2 separate regions of the Homo sapiens genome follow, and region 1 is linked to region 2. The links are contacts of gene promoters, found by promoter capture Hi-C in blood cells and fetal thymus (Javierre and others, 2016). All regions are on one chromosome and are shown on one strand. Each heading gives the region's core, a stretch centred on a gene start or on the middle of the fragment in contact. The rest is flanking DNA. Distances are from core to core; before and after follow the strand shown.

Region 1 (6,720 bases), core at 304-2,803, 2.0 Mb before region 2:
AAAATTAATAGAAAAAATATGCCCAAAGAAATCAGAAAGAGCTGATACAGATAATGCTATAGAAAACAGTAAGACAAGCCAACAATACATTAAATAAATCAACAAAACTGAAATTTGGTTTTGGAAAGAACAAGAAAAAAAAACTTGACAAGTGTGATTATGAAAAAAAGAGCAAACACCCAAGTAAAGTTAAGAATGAGAAAGCAGAATTAAATATATGGAGCATATTTTAAAATTTGTAAGAAGAATTCTATATGTACAATTTTATACCCTACATTTAAACTCATGATTACAGAAAATACCTGAAGAAATAGTAGAAAGTTTGAATAGGAAAATAACAATATAAGAATAGGAAAAGATATTCAAAAATTTTACCCTTACCATGTATCTGACTCAGATGATTTTACAGTAGAGTTCCATCAAATCTACAATAGACATATCATTGTAATGCTATGCAAATTGTGCTAGTCATATAACAAAAATGAAAAGCTTTCTAATTCACTCTATGCAACCACTGCCTGTACTCCCCAAACAATCACACTTCCTGTTTCTTCTTTTCTCTCTCCTCACTACGCATTGGTTAGAACAATATTCAGTGTTTCCATTATTGTGATGCTGGGCACATTAATGTGTATGATTTTTTTGTTTTTGTTTTTGAAGTTGTCATCTTCCTGAATCATCACTCTCTTTTTCAGGTTATTCACCTCTGTTTGCTTGTTTTGATTTCTCTCATGTCAGAGTTTCTCCAGATGTCTGTGATCTTTAGGTGTCCATTCATAGTTATGAGGGAGATACTAAAAAGATTACTAGCAACGTTGAGCATGTGGGTAGGGTTTTTGGGCTGTAGGGTTCACTGCCAATGGTATAGTTGCACTGTTTCATTGGGGAACCCCTGATTGTCAGTACCTTTAGACTCAGTGTTTTTAGATTTTTCTTCTTGTGCTAGTAATATCCTGCAGAGAGACATCCTCCCATCTCCTGCCTGGAATGTACAATCTAGTGTTTTGGGATCCCAGTTGATGAAGAAGGTTTAAGGTGTCAATAGTCAGTGCTCAGAGAATTTTACTTAATCCCAGTTTTCGATATGGTATCTCCACCTTCATCTATGCTTCATATTCTCTAGTCCAGACATATGTTTTATCTTCTACACAGGCTATACCTTTGGTCCTCTGATGAGTTTGGGGAACAGTAGTCAACCACACAGCCAGGGATCAAAGGAGTATACATCTGAGACTCCAGATGTTCAGACTTTCAAGCACTGCTGTTTTCAACCTCTTCTTCCCCCCTCTTTCCAGAGGTACTTGGTACAGTCAGTTCCTGGGATTTAAGGAGACTCTTCAGTACAAGTCATGTTGTTTCTTGGTTTCCTCTACTATCTGCTTAAGGTTCAGGTTACTTTTTAAATTTTAAGTTCTGGGGTACTGGTGCAGGATGTGCAGGTTTGTTACAAAGGTAAACGTGTGCCATGGTGGTTTGCTCCACCTATCAATCCATCACCTAGGTATTAAGCCCTGCACGCATTAGGTATTTTTCCTAATGGTCTCCCTCCCCTACCCACCCACCAACAGGTCCCATTGTGTGTTGTTCCCCTCCCTGTGTCCATGTGTTCACGTTGTTCAGCTCCCACTTATAAGTGAGAACACGTGGTGTTTGGTTTTCTGTTCCTGCGTTAGTTTGCTGAGGATAATGGCTTCCAACTTGACCCATGTCCCTGCAAAGGACATCATCTCATTCCTTTTTTATGGCTGCATAACCACATTTTCTTTATCCAGTCTACCATTTATGGACATTTAGGTTGATTCCATGTCTTTGCTATTGTGAACAGTGCTGCAATGAACACGTTTGCATGTATCTTTATAATAGAATGATTTATATTCCTTAGGGTGTATATCCAGTAATGGGATTGCTGGGTCAAATGGTATTTCTGCCTCTAGGTCTTTGAGGAATCATCACACTGTCTTTCACAATAGTTGAACTAATTCACACTCCCACCAACAATGTAAAAGTGTTCCTTTTTCTCCACAACCTTGCCAGCATCTGTGTTTGTTGTTTTTTGACTTTTTTAAAAATAGCCATTATGACTGGTGTGAGATGGTATCTCAGTGTGGTTTTGATTTGCATTTCTCTAATGATCAGTGATGTCGAGCTTTTTTCATATATTGTTTTTTATATATGTTTTTCATATATGTTTCATACATGTATGTTTTTCATATGTTTCATACACGTATGTTTTTCATGTTTCATACACGTATGTTTTTCATATATGTTTCATACACGTATGTTTTTAATATATGTTTCATACGTGTATGTGTTTCATATGTTTCATACACGTGTTTTTCATATATGTTCCACACACGTATGTTTTCATATATGTTTCATACATGTATGTTTTCATATATGCTTCATACACATATGTTTTCATATATGTTTCATGCACGTATGTTTTTCATATATGTTTCATACACGTATGTTTTCATATATGTTTCATATATGAAGTTCATTCATGATTTGGCTCGCTGCTTGCCTGTTGTTGGTGTATAAGAATGCTAGCTGTTTTTGTACATTGATTTTATATCCTGTAACTTGCTGAAGTTGCTTATCAGCTTAAGAAGCTTTTGGGCTGAGACAATGGAGTTTTCTAGATATAGCATCATGTCATCTGCAAAAAAGATAGTTTGACTTCCTCTCTTCCTATTTGAATATGCTTTATTTCTTTCTATTGCCTGATTGCCCTGGCCAGAACTCCCAATACTAGGTTGAATAGGAATGGTGAGAGAGGGCATTCTTGTCTTGTGCTGGTTTTCGAAGGGAATGCTTCCAGCTTTTGCCCATTCAGTGTGCTGTTGGCTGTGGGTTGTCATATATGGCCCTCTTTATTTTGAGGTATGTTCCTTCAATACCTAGTTTATTGAGAGCTTTTAACATGAAAGGATGTTGAAGTTTATCAAAGGCATTTTCTGCATCTATTGATATAATCATGTGGTTTTTGTCTTTAGATCTGTTTATGTGATGAATCACATTTATTGATTTGTGTATGTTGAACCAACCTTGCATCCTGGGGATGAAGCCAACTTGATCATGGTGGATAAACTATTTGATGTGCTGCTGGATTTTGTTTGCCAGTATTTTATTGAGGATTTTTGCATCTATGTTCATCTAGGATATTGGCCTGAAGTGTTCTTTTTTCACTGTGCCTCTGCCAGGTTTTGATATCAGGATGATGCTGGCCTCATAAAACGAGTTAGGGAGGAGTCCCTACAATTTTTAAAATTTGTTTTAGTATAAATGATGCCAGCTCTTCTTTGTACCTCTGGTAAAATTCAGCTGTGAATCCATCTGGTCCTGGGCTTTTTCTGGTTGATAGGCTATTTATTACTGCCTCAATTTCAGAACTCATTATTGGTCTATTCAGGGATTCAATTTCTTCCTGTTTCAGTCTTGGGAGGGTGTATGTGTCCAGGAGTTTATCCATTTATTCTAGATTTTCTAGTTTATGTGCATAGAGGTGTTTATAGTATTCTCTGATGGCTGTTCGTATTTCTGTGGGGTCAGTGGTGATATCCCCCTTATCATTTCTGATTGTGTTTATTTGCATCTTCTCTCTTTTCTTCTTTATTCGTTTAGCTAGTGGTCTGTCTATTTTATTAACCTTTTCAAAAAACCAGCTCCTGGTTTTGTTGTTATTTTGAAGGGTTTTTTGTGTCTCTATCTCCTTCAGTTCAGCTCTGATCCTAGTTAATTCTTGTCTTCTGCTAGCTTTGGGGTTTGTTTGCTCTTGCTTCTCTAGTTCTTTTAGTTGAGATGTTAGGTTGTTAACTTGAGATATTTCTAGCTTTTTGATGTGGGCATTTAGTACTATAAATTTCCCTCTTAACACTGCTTTAGCTGCATCCCAGGGATTCTGGTACATTGTCTCTTTTTTCTCATTAGTCTCAAAGAATTTCTTGATTTCTGCTTAATTTTATTATTTACCCAAGTGTCATTCAGGAGAAGGTTTTTCAATTTCCATGTAATTGTGTTATTTTGAGTCAATTTCTTAATCTTGAGTTCTAATTTGATTGCACTGTGGTCTGAGAGACTGTTAGGATTTCAGTTATTTTGCATTTGATGAGGAGTGTTTTACTTCTGATTATGTGATCAATTTTAGAGTAAGTGCCATGTGGCAATGAGAAGATGTATATTCTGTTGAATTTGGGTGGAGAGTTCTGTAGACACCTATCAGCTCCATTTGATTCAGAGCTGAGCTCAGGTTTTAAATATCTTTGTTAATTTTGTGTCTCAATGATCTAATATTGACATTGAGGTGTTAAAGTCTCCCAATATTATTGTGTGGGAGTCTAAGGCTCTTTGTAGGTCTCTAAGAACTTGCTTTATTAACCTGGGTGCTCCCATATTGGGTGCATATATAAGATAATTAGCTCTTCTTGTTGAATTGAACCTTTTACCATTATGTAATGCCCTTCTTTGTCTTTTTTGAACTTTGTTGGTTTAAAATCTGTTTTGTCAGAAATTAGGATTGCAACCCCTGCTTTTCTCTGTTTTCCATCTGCTTGATAAAATTTCCTCCATCCCTTTATTTTGAGCCTATGTGTGTCTTTGCATGTGAGATGGGTCTCTTGAAGACAGCATACCAATGGGTCATGATGAGAGGTGACAACATGCTAGCAGCCCTCGCTCGCTCTCAGTGCCTCCTCGACCTTGGCGTCTGCTCTGGCCGTGCTTGAGGAGCCCTTCAGCCCACCGCTGCCCTACGAGGGCCCCTCTCTGGGGCTGGCCGAGGCCGGAGCTGGCTCTCTCTGCTCACGGGGAAGTGTGAAGAGAGAGGTGTGGGTGGGAGCCGGGGCTGCACGCAGCGCTCACAGGCCAGCGCAGGTTCCAGGTGAGCATGGGCCTGCTGGGCTTGATCAGAGGCTGAATCCTGTGTGTGGACCACTGTTCCCTCCTCGTGGGACCGTTGGCCACGATAGCAGGTCTCCGTCTCTTTCTCACTTCCCCTCTTTTCCTCTTGATTGTCTGGGATGAGCTCCCTCTGGGCTGCTGGAGCCCTCTGGAGCCCTCTCGGCTGCTGGGCTGCTGTCTGGATGAGCTCCCTCAGGCTAGGTGCCTCAAAGTCCCGTGGTGAATGCCAGTGAGAGGTGAGGCTGGCTGAGCTTCTGGGATGGGTGGGGACTTGGAGAACTTTTCTGTCTAGCTAAAGGATTGTAAACGCACCAATCAGCACTCTATGTCTAGCTAAAGGTTTGTAAACACACCAATCAGTGCTCTGTGTCTAGCTAATTGGCTGGGGACTTGGAGAACTTTTCTGTTTAGCTAAAGATTGTAAACGCACCAATCAGCACTCTGTGTCTAGCTAAAGGTTTGTAAATGCACCAATCAGCACTCTGTCAAAATGGACCAATCAGCTCTCTGTAAAACGGACCAATCAGCTCTCTGTAAAATGGACCAATCAGCTCTCTGTAAAGTGGACCAATCAGCTCTCTGTAAAGTGGACCAATCAGCAGGATGTGAGTGGGGCCGGATAAGGGAATAAAAGTAGGCCACCCGAGCCAGCAGCGGCAACCCGCTGTGGTCCCATTCCATGCTGTGGAAGCTTTGTTCTTTTGCTCTTCACAATAAATCTTGCTGCTGTTCACTCTTTGGGTCCACGCTACCTTTATGTGCTGTAACACTCACCTCTGAAGGTCTGCAGCTTTACTCCTGAAGCCAGCGAGACCACAAACCCACCGGGAGAAATGAACAACTCTGGACGCGCTGCCTTTAAGAGCTGTAACACTCACTGCGAAGGTCTGTGGCTTCACTCCTGAAGTCAGTGAGACAACGAACCCACCAAAAGGGAGAAATTCCGGACACATCTGAACATCAGAAGGAACAAACTCCAGACACACCATCTTTAAGAACTGTAACACTCACCACGAGGGTCCACGGCTTCATTCTTTAAGTCAGCGAGACCAAGAACCCACCAATTCCAGACACAATGACTCTATCAAGCTTGCCGTCTGTGCCTTTTAATTGGGACATTTAGTCCATTTACATTTAAGGTTAGTATTTTTGTGTGTGAATTTGATCCTGTCATCATGATGCTAGCTGGTTATTTTGCAGGCTTGTTTATGTGGTTGCTTCATGGTGTCACTGGTCTGTGTAATTCAGTGTGTTTTTATAATGGCTGGTAGTGGTTTTTCCTTTCCATATTCAGTGCTTCCTTCAGGAGCTCTTGCAAGGCAGGCCTGGTGTTGAAAAATTCACTAAGCATTTGCTTGTCTGAAAAGGATCTTACTTTCTTATTCGCTTATGAAGAAAAATAAGGAATGCTTCCTGAATTTGCATGTCATCTTTGTGCAAGGGACATGCTAATGTTCTCTCTACCATTCCATTTTAGTATATATGCTGCTGAAGTGACCGCCAAAATATTTTCTTAATGGTTGCGTAATAGTCTTCAGTCATTCTTCAACTGGTAGTTGTCCATTTTTCTTTCACCTTTTTACATTAGCAAAAAGATCCACAAGGAACATATGTATATCCATAGATGTGGGGTTTTCTGTTAAACATAAAAATGGAATTGTTCAGTGTGTACTGTTTTTGAGTGCAAGTAACAGAACTCAAACCAGCAGTGGTTTAAACCAGGAATATATTAGTTGTTTAGTGAACAAGAAATCTGGTAGAAGATAGTCATAGTTTGAGTGTTCAAAGTCATAGTCCACAAGCCAAGCTCTTTTCATAATT
Region 2 (6,511 bases), core at 889-3,388:
TTTATAAACTTAGGCACTAGGGCCACCTGTAGCTGGTGATCTGTGCATTATTTTCTTGAGCTTTCTCCCTTTCTCCTTCTTCTTCTTCTAAGAGCCTTGGACCAGGCATCAGAAGCCCCCTTACCCTCTAATTCTTGCTTGGCGTTTAGCAAAATACTTTCCTTCTGGAGACTCAAATTTTCCTTCTCCATAGAGAAGGGCAAACTTGAGATGAGCTCTGAGGCAGAGGGACAGCCCTGTGGATGGCCTCCCACCCTGTATTGCAATTGCATCATTAGATGGAAGCAGTCTGATGCAGTGGGAGCACAATTAAGCTCCCTTTCCTAGCAAAGGAGGCATTTGTTTCTATGTATTTCCAAAGGTTAAAAGCACATAGTTCCTAGAGCAATAAGATTTATTCATTCAGTCATTCATTCAACAAACATGTATTATGTCAATATTTAACTGAAGTAAAGACGTGAGAGCCGAACAAGACCTTAGAAGTCAGGTTCATTTTACAGATGAGGTCATTTCTTAACCAGGGAAAGTGCTGACTTACTCAAGAAACTACAAATAGAAACAAAACCCAGGGATTATGAGTCCCAGTCCATCATCTTTCCAAAAAGCACACTACTGCTTAATATGAATTAAAAATCTACTTAAACGTAAATAGCAGTGGTAGTGTTTTACTTAAAGGTATCCTTTTTATTAAAAAAAAATGTATTTGAAAGTGAAACATCAAATACTAGTTTCGGTTCTCAGATACAGTAATTTCCTTCAAGACATTGATGACGCTTTCAATATTCCTTGAGGACAGATTATTTTTGCGAAGAATTTCAGAGACAGGAGAGAGATTCAGAGAGAAAGGTGGAGGTGGTTGGGGGCTCATGAGATTCTTGAGACCTACAGAATCAAGGAAATTCATGGGTAATCTAACTGTGGGAAGCGACACTCGGACCCTAAGGAGGTCTTCGTTCCTGCCTGTCCTTGAGAGTCCACAGCTGCTTTCCAAAACGTAGTTACTAGGAACAAATCAGCCTGAAACGCGATAACCACTTTAAGTAAGTTTCATTTGGCCCCGTGTCTTCTGAAGAACTGCCGCAGCACTCCGCTAGGGAGAGCGGGCTTTTAAGGCTGTGGAAAGGTTCAGGGTGAACTGGGACCCCAAGGGAGGGAAAGGCGGTCATTAAAATAAGGAAAACGCTCCCTCTCCTTGCTGAGGCAAGGGAGGCTTAAAGACGAACTCCGTCGCCTGTCTCACTCGCATCTAACCGAGTAGAGCCTGGCTCAGGTCTCCAAGCCTTCCACAGGACACGGTGGGTGCCGGCGGGCTTACAGCCCACCTCCGTCCCGGCCGCCCATCAGGCCACGAGGGGGCTAAGAGGAGTCCGGGGAACCAGAGAGGGGGCACTGCTTGCCCGCAGCCTCTTCTTCTAAACACCCGCCGCCCGCAAGCCGGGTCGAATCCCATTTCCGAAGGGCGCTTCCGGGAGACCAGGTGTCTCCGAGCGTCCCCGATCGCCGGTAACTGGGCACCGGCCGCCAGCGCAGCCCTACCTTCCCTGCCCCTACCTGCTAGACGCCTGGTGCGGTGCCCGGCATGCGGACCTACAGCCGCGACGGCCACTCGGGCTGCCCTCGCCATGGGACTTGGGCACTGCAGGCCGACCGGAGGCTTCTAGCTCGCGCCGGGTGCGTGGGCCCTCCCTGGCCGCCTGTGCCACCCCGCTGCGCGAGGCGCGGAGCCCGACCACGCCCGCGCGGACGGTCCCGGGGTGAGGAATCTCCAGTGGGGATTGAGGGTAGAGGGCGGCCGCCAGCGAGCTGCCCTCCGCGGATGGCGCCCAGCCTCCCCACGCTGGTGCCCCTCGCAAGGAGAGGTGGCCGGGAAAGGCAACGGACTGAGGAAAGCCGGCTCACTGGCCGCGTCGCCACCGCGTCCCTGAGTGCTCAGAACTTACCGAGCGAGCGCGCCGCCCAGATCTTTTCCCGGAGGCGCCCGCAGCATCTGCGACTCGGGGAGGCAAAGGAGCCGGCACCGCCTCGGACTGGCGCAGCCCAGGAGCGAGAGCACCGCGGGGAGCGCGGGCGGCGCCCCCAGGGCAGGCAGATCCCCACCGAGCAGCTAGCCAACGGGCAACGCTTCTTGCAGGAAGGAGGGAGGGAGGCGAGAGGGAGGAGGGAAGTAAAGCGGGAGGGAGGAGAGGGGAAGAAGGGAGGGAGGAGGGAGGAGGGAGGGAGGAGGGAGGAGGGAGTGAGGAGGGAGGAGGGAGGGAGGAGGGAGGGAGGGATCGCGTCCCCCCTCTCCCTCACTTATCAATCACCCCACAGATCAAATATCCGGGCTGTGCACCCAGGACGGGGATGTAAGAGCCCACAAAGGAGCCGCTGCTCCATTTCTCTGACAAGCGCTGCGGAGCACTGCTCACGCCTCTCGGTCCCTCTTGCCTGGAACTCTGCCCAGCCCTTGCGGCTTCCACCCTGGGCTGCAGCTCGGGCTCGGTCAAGTGAAATAAGAATGGCACACGGTCGGTACCATGTCCAAGGGGAGACTAAGACTACTGGGTGGAAGTTAACGACAAGTGAAAGAGCAGTCAGCCATCCGAGCTGGACACCCTCCGGGACAGCTGCCTCCCCTAACTAGTAAGCGCCCAGTCTTTGGGAGTTCGCAGGCAGATATTTAAGAACCTCCTACGAGGATCGTAAACAAGGACTTTCAACATAAGATAGAGCTGAACTTGAGTTGTGCAAGTGTGTTAACAAAGCAAGCCCTTAGCAGCGTTCCAGTGCCCATTTTGATTCCCTTTATTCTTCACGACGACGTTGCCTGGATCTTCTAGAGCGTGATTTTTGCCATCCTCCCTTCCCTTTTCTCCTTTCTTCTTCCTCTTATTAGTAGTCCAGGTGGTTGTGATTCTATTAAAGGAAGGCGCTCTGTGAAAAGAGTCAGTGTAGTTCAAGAGGGAGGTGCGGTTTTTGCCAAGAGCATTGCGTTTCCCCTCAAGACTTGCTTTCTCTAGGGCCTCTCCTCTACTCTTCCAGAGTATTCGAGATAAAGTTGCAGTTTGATAAATTTATGCCAGGAGTAGGGAGTTCATTTGATGACACTAAGTCATTTTCCCCTCCATCCTGTAGGAGAACGTCATTAATTCAAGTCGTTGCCACCCCCTATCCTTTTCATGCCCGCTAGAGTCTGCAAAACCCCAAATCCTTCTTACTGTCGAAAAGCGTGATGGTGGAGAGCAGACGGGGAGGCGAGGAGAGAGGTGCAAAATTAGACGCAAAATTACCTCTCCAGCTAGTGGATCTGCATTGGAATTTGTCTGTTTCCATATTTCCCATGCCTTTCAACTCGTTCTCACAGCACTGACAACCACCTTTTTCTTGTCCTTCCCGTGGGAATCTTTTGTGCTTCTCCTGTCCTCTCTTCTTGGCTTTCTTTCATAATGGTTTTCTAAGGAGATTATGCTGGGCTTTTTAAAAAGAAAACTACTGGCAATCTTATATTATGAAGATGTACAGAGTTTGCTTTAATAATAGTCGGAAGAATTATAATCGTATCTTCGGAGTTGTAAGGGTCATTACTGTTCCTTTTATTTCATTCTTGAGAAAGCCTTTTTGAAATCTTCCTACCATTCAGATAAGCAACTTCGGAATAACATAGTTCTCACATAAGCACGTGGGCAGTGTATGTACGGTTATATATCCAGAAGCATTGCTCTTCTTTTTACAATATCTGTATTAGTGTAAACATCCAATGTGCTGTTTGCTACAGACTAAAAGCAGTGCACTGAGCACATCATATTATTAACTAAATGAGGTCAGTTAATACTGTTACTTCTGTCTTTACCGTATTTCTGACTGTGTCATCTTTTCATGTCGCTTTTAGTAGATGTTATAAACAACTGCAAAACACAGAGCTAAGAGGCCATTCCAATACAGAAATAATGAGACAGTCATGCTGAAAAACTCAGACAGTTTACTAAGAAGGGTGATGTGTCTGTAGCCAAAGGGAACATACAAAATAAGCAAAAACTTCTATACAGAGTAGAGAAGGAACATGGCATTAATGATGAAAAGTGATACTTTATTTAGATCCAGTAGTAACATGTAATAGATGGCATGCATCAATTTTAATTAGCCTTGTAAGCAAGTCTAACCTGTTCACCAGCCTTCGAAAAGCATTTAGCAGCCTGCCTTTCCACATGGGACCACACTGATAGTAAGACAAAATTAAAAAGAGCAGACTTTTCTTTTTGTCAGCATAAAATTTTCAAGTAGGTGGATAGCTGTGCTTTGAATGCACAGACACGAAAATTGATGAGCAATATAAAACTTTCTGAGAGGGTTTTGCATAGACAGTTATAATGGAGGAGAGTTTGAAGTCTGTGAAAAATTTAAATATGCCAATTTATTTGAAAGCTGCTTTATGCTGAATTTTCTAAAAGCTTCTGTGTTAGAGGAAAATTTCCAAATAGAATTGAATACTAGAGACACCATATTAATGTACTTCTGTTCATTAATAAAAATCACATTATTCTTCTTTATACTAGCACTGTAAATGTATCTTTATATCCATGTGCTGTTTTCTTTTTGAAAAACTTTTATTTTAGGTTCAGGTGTACGTGTGCAAGTTTGTTATATAGGTAAATTGCATGTGGTGGGGGTTTGGTTTACTGTAAGCTACTTTCTATTGTGAAGTTCGTGTTACTAAACAACATAGAGATCCCGATTGGAAAACTAGTGGAAAAACAGAGAAATAAAACTAAATCTTGCCTGGGTTTTTATAATTTCATTCTAAGGTTAGAAGAAAACCAGAAATTTCACCTGCGATGAGTGAGATAAAAAGCGCATATGTTTCCAGGATGATGTAAAGGATGTCCTATTACTGTGTAGTACGTAATTTACCTGAGAATGTTGCTTTTTCAACTTCTTCACACCTATCCAGAACTAGAAAGCTTTAAAACATATAAAAGAAGACAAAATGTGCTGCATTTTCAGTGAACATAGTTTCTTTCCAACCAAAGGTTTCAAAGAAGAGTGCCACAGAACAAATTCCTAAATAAAGAAACGCAACAAAGCGGACATGCCCTTAATATTAGTAATTATAGTTTACAGGATATTGTAGACTTTTGTTCCTGATGTTATTGAAAAGGTGGATATTTTTCAATTCAATTCAATTATTTGGATTATTTGGCAGGCATTTTGGCCTGATTGAAATAGTGCTGGGCCAAGACCCAGGGCAGTTTTTCTTTTAATCAAATACATATCCAAGCCCTTGGAGCCCAATGACCTGGGTTCAAATTCCACCCGTGCTACTTTCTCACAATGGGACAAAAACAGCATTACACCAATTTCAGTTCCCCATGTGTAAAACTGGCACCTGCTATGTGGAGTCAGTAAGGATGGGATGTATACAGAACTCTTGAAAATTGAACGGTGGTACATGTATGTGCAAATAAATCTTAAACTAAAAAAATTTTTAACTCACTTCTTAAAATAAATAAGTTATACAAAATATTTTATATCTGTTTTCTATGTTTCTCATGACAATCCTCAACAGGCCAGTATGATTAGCCAGACTTTACAAAAGAGGAAAGTGAGACTCAGAAAATTTAAGTAACTTACCCTTACTCCCATTCTTGGTGAAATGGTTGATTTTAGTCAGAAACCAACATCTTAATTTAAGTTGGATAACAGAATTAGCATTAGAAAAAATATTTATGATTCTAGTTGGAGCCATGTAATGTCAAACATTTAAAATAACTTCAAAAAAATTCCATCTTTCATTTTACAGATGTTTTCAAATAGTTACATATATGTATACATCAGGGCTCAAACTCAACACTGTTGATATATTTGGTCAAATGATTATTTGTTGTGGGGGCTGCCCTATGCAATGTAGAAGGATTAGCAGCGTCACTGGCTTTTGTGTGTGTGTGTAATGTGCATATGTATACTATATATACATACGTGTAATTATATAAATGTAATAAGTAATATAACAATATATAATGAAATATTATTCTATTGTAGTCGATTTTTTAAATGCTTGGCTGTGGCCCACTAAACTGAACTCAGGAGTGACTGTAGATTGCCTCTTACAGTTTGAATAACACTGCCACGCTGGAATGGGCAGGAAAGGAAGGAAAATGGGATAGAAAGGAGAAAAGAGGCAGTAGATCAAGAGGGGAAGTACAGAAATAGAAGGAAAAGACAACTGCATGTCTTACAAAGTTATAGAAAGACTTATGGTGCCCCCATCAATTACACCAAGTGCCACTTATTAATGATACCTGTTCTCTAAGGGCTCTGGCTCTCCCTCTTTTTTGACTGAGTCCAGTGATTTATCAGTAAGAACCACATTTAAGCTTACTAGACTTGGGAGCACATATACATGGCAAAAGCCACAAATTTAACAGATAAGGCTCAGGACAGCATTAGTAGGTATTTCATCTATCCTGACACATTCTATCTTATGAATTTTGCTGCAGCTGGAAGTCATATTTTGGTTTGGAGTTACAACCTAATG

The links. Contacts are between HindIII fragments. The CHiCAGO score rates a contact against its expected background, and 5 or more counts as called.
Region 1: a contact is called between a fragment that was not itself captured here and the fragment with the promoter of SLITRK2 in region 2, in 1 of 17 cell types (endothelial precursors). The highest score is 5.8, in endothelial precursors.

What each region holds. Positions count from the first base shown.
Region 1 is chrX:147,826,959-147,833,678 of GRCh38, reverse strand. It overlaps the pseudogene RNU6-382P. Among named protein-coding and RNA genes, the nearest start is that of FMR1-AS1, 81 kb to the left of the region's middle. The HindIII fragment of the contact is 2,123 bases long and covers 492-2,614 here.
Region 2 is chrX:145,813,456-145,819,966 of GRCh38, reverse strand. It overlaps SLITRK2 (SLIT and NTRK like family member 2), which reads right to left and starts at 2,138. Exons shown (of 5, transcript NM_032539.5): 1 at 1,941-2,138. The HindIII fragment of the contact is 7,249 bases long and covers 1-4,429 here.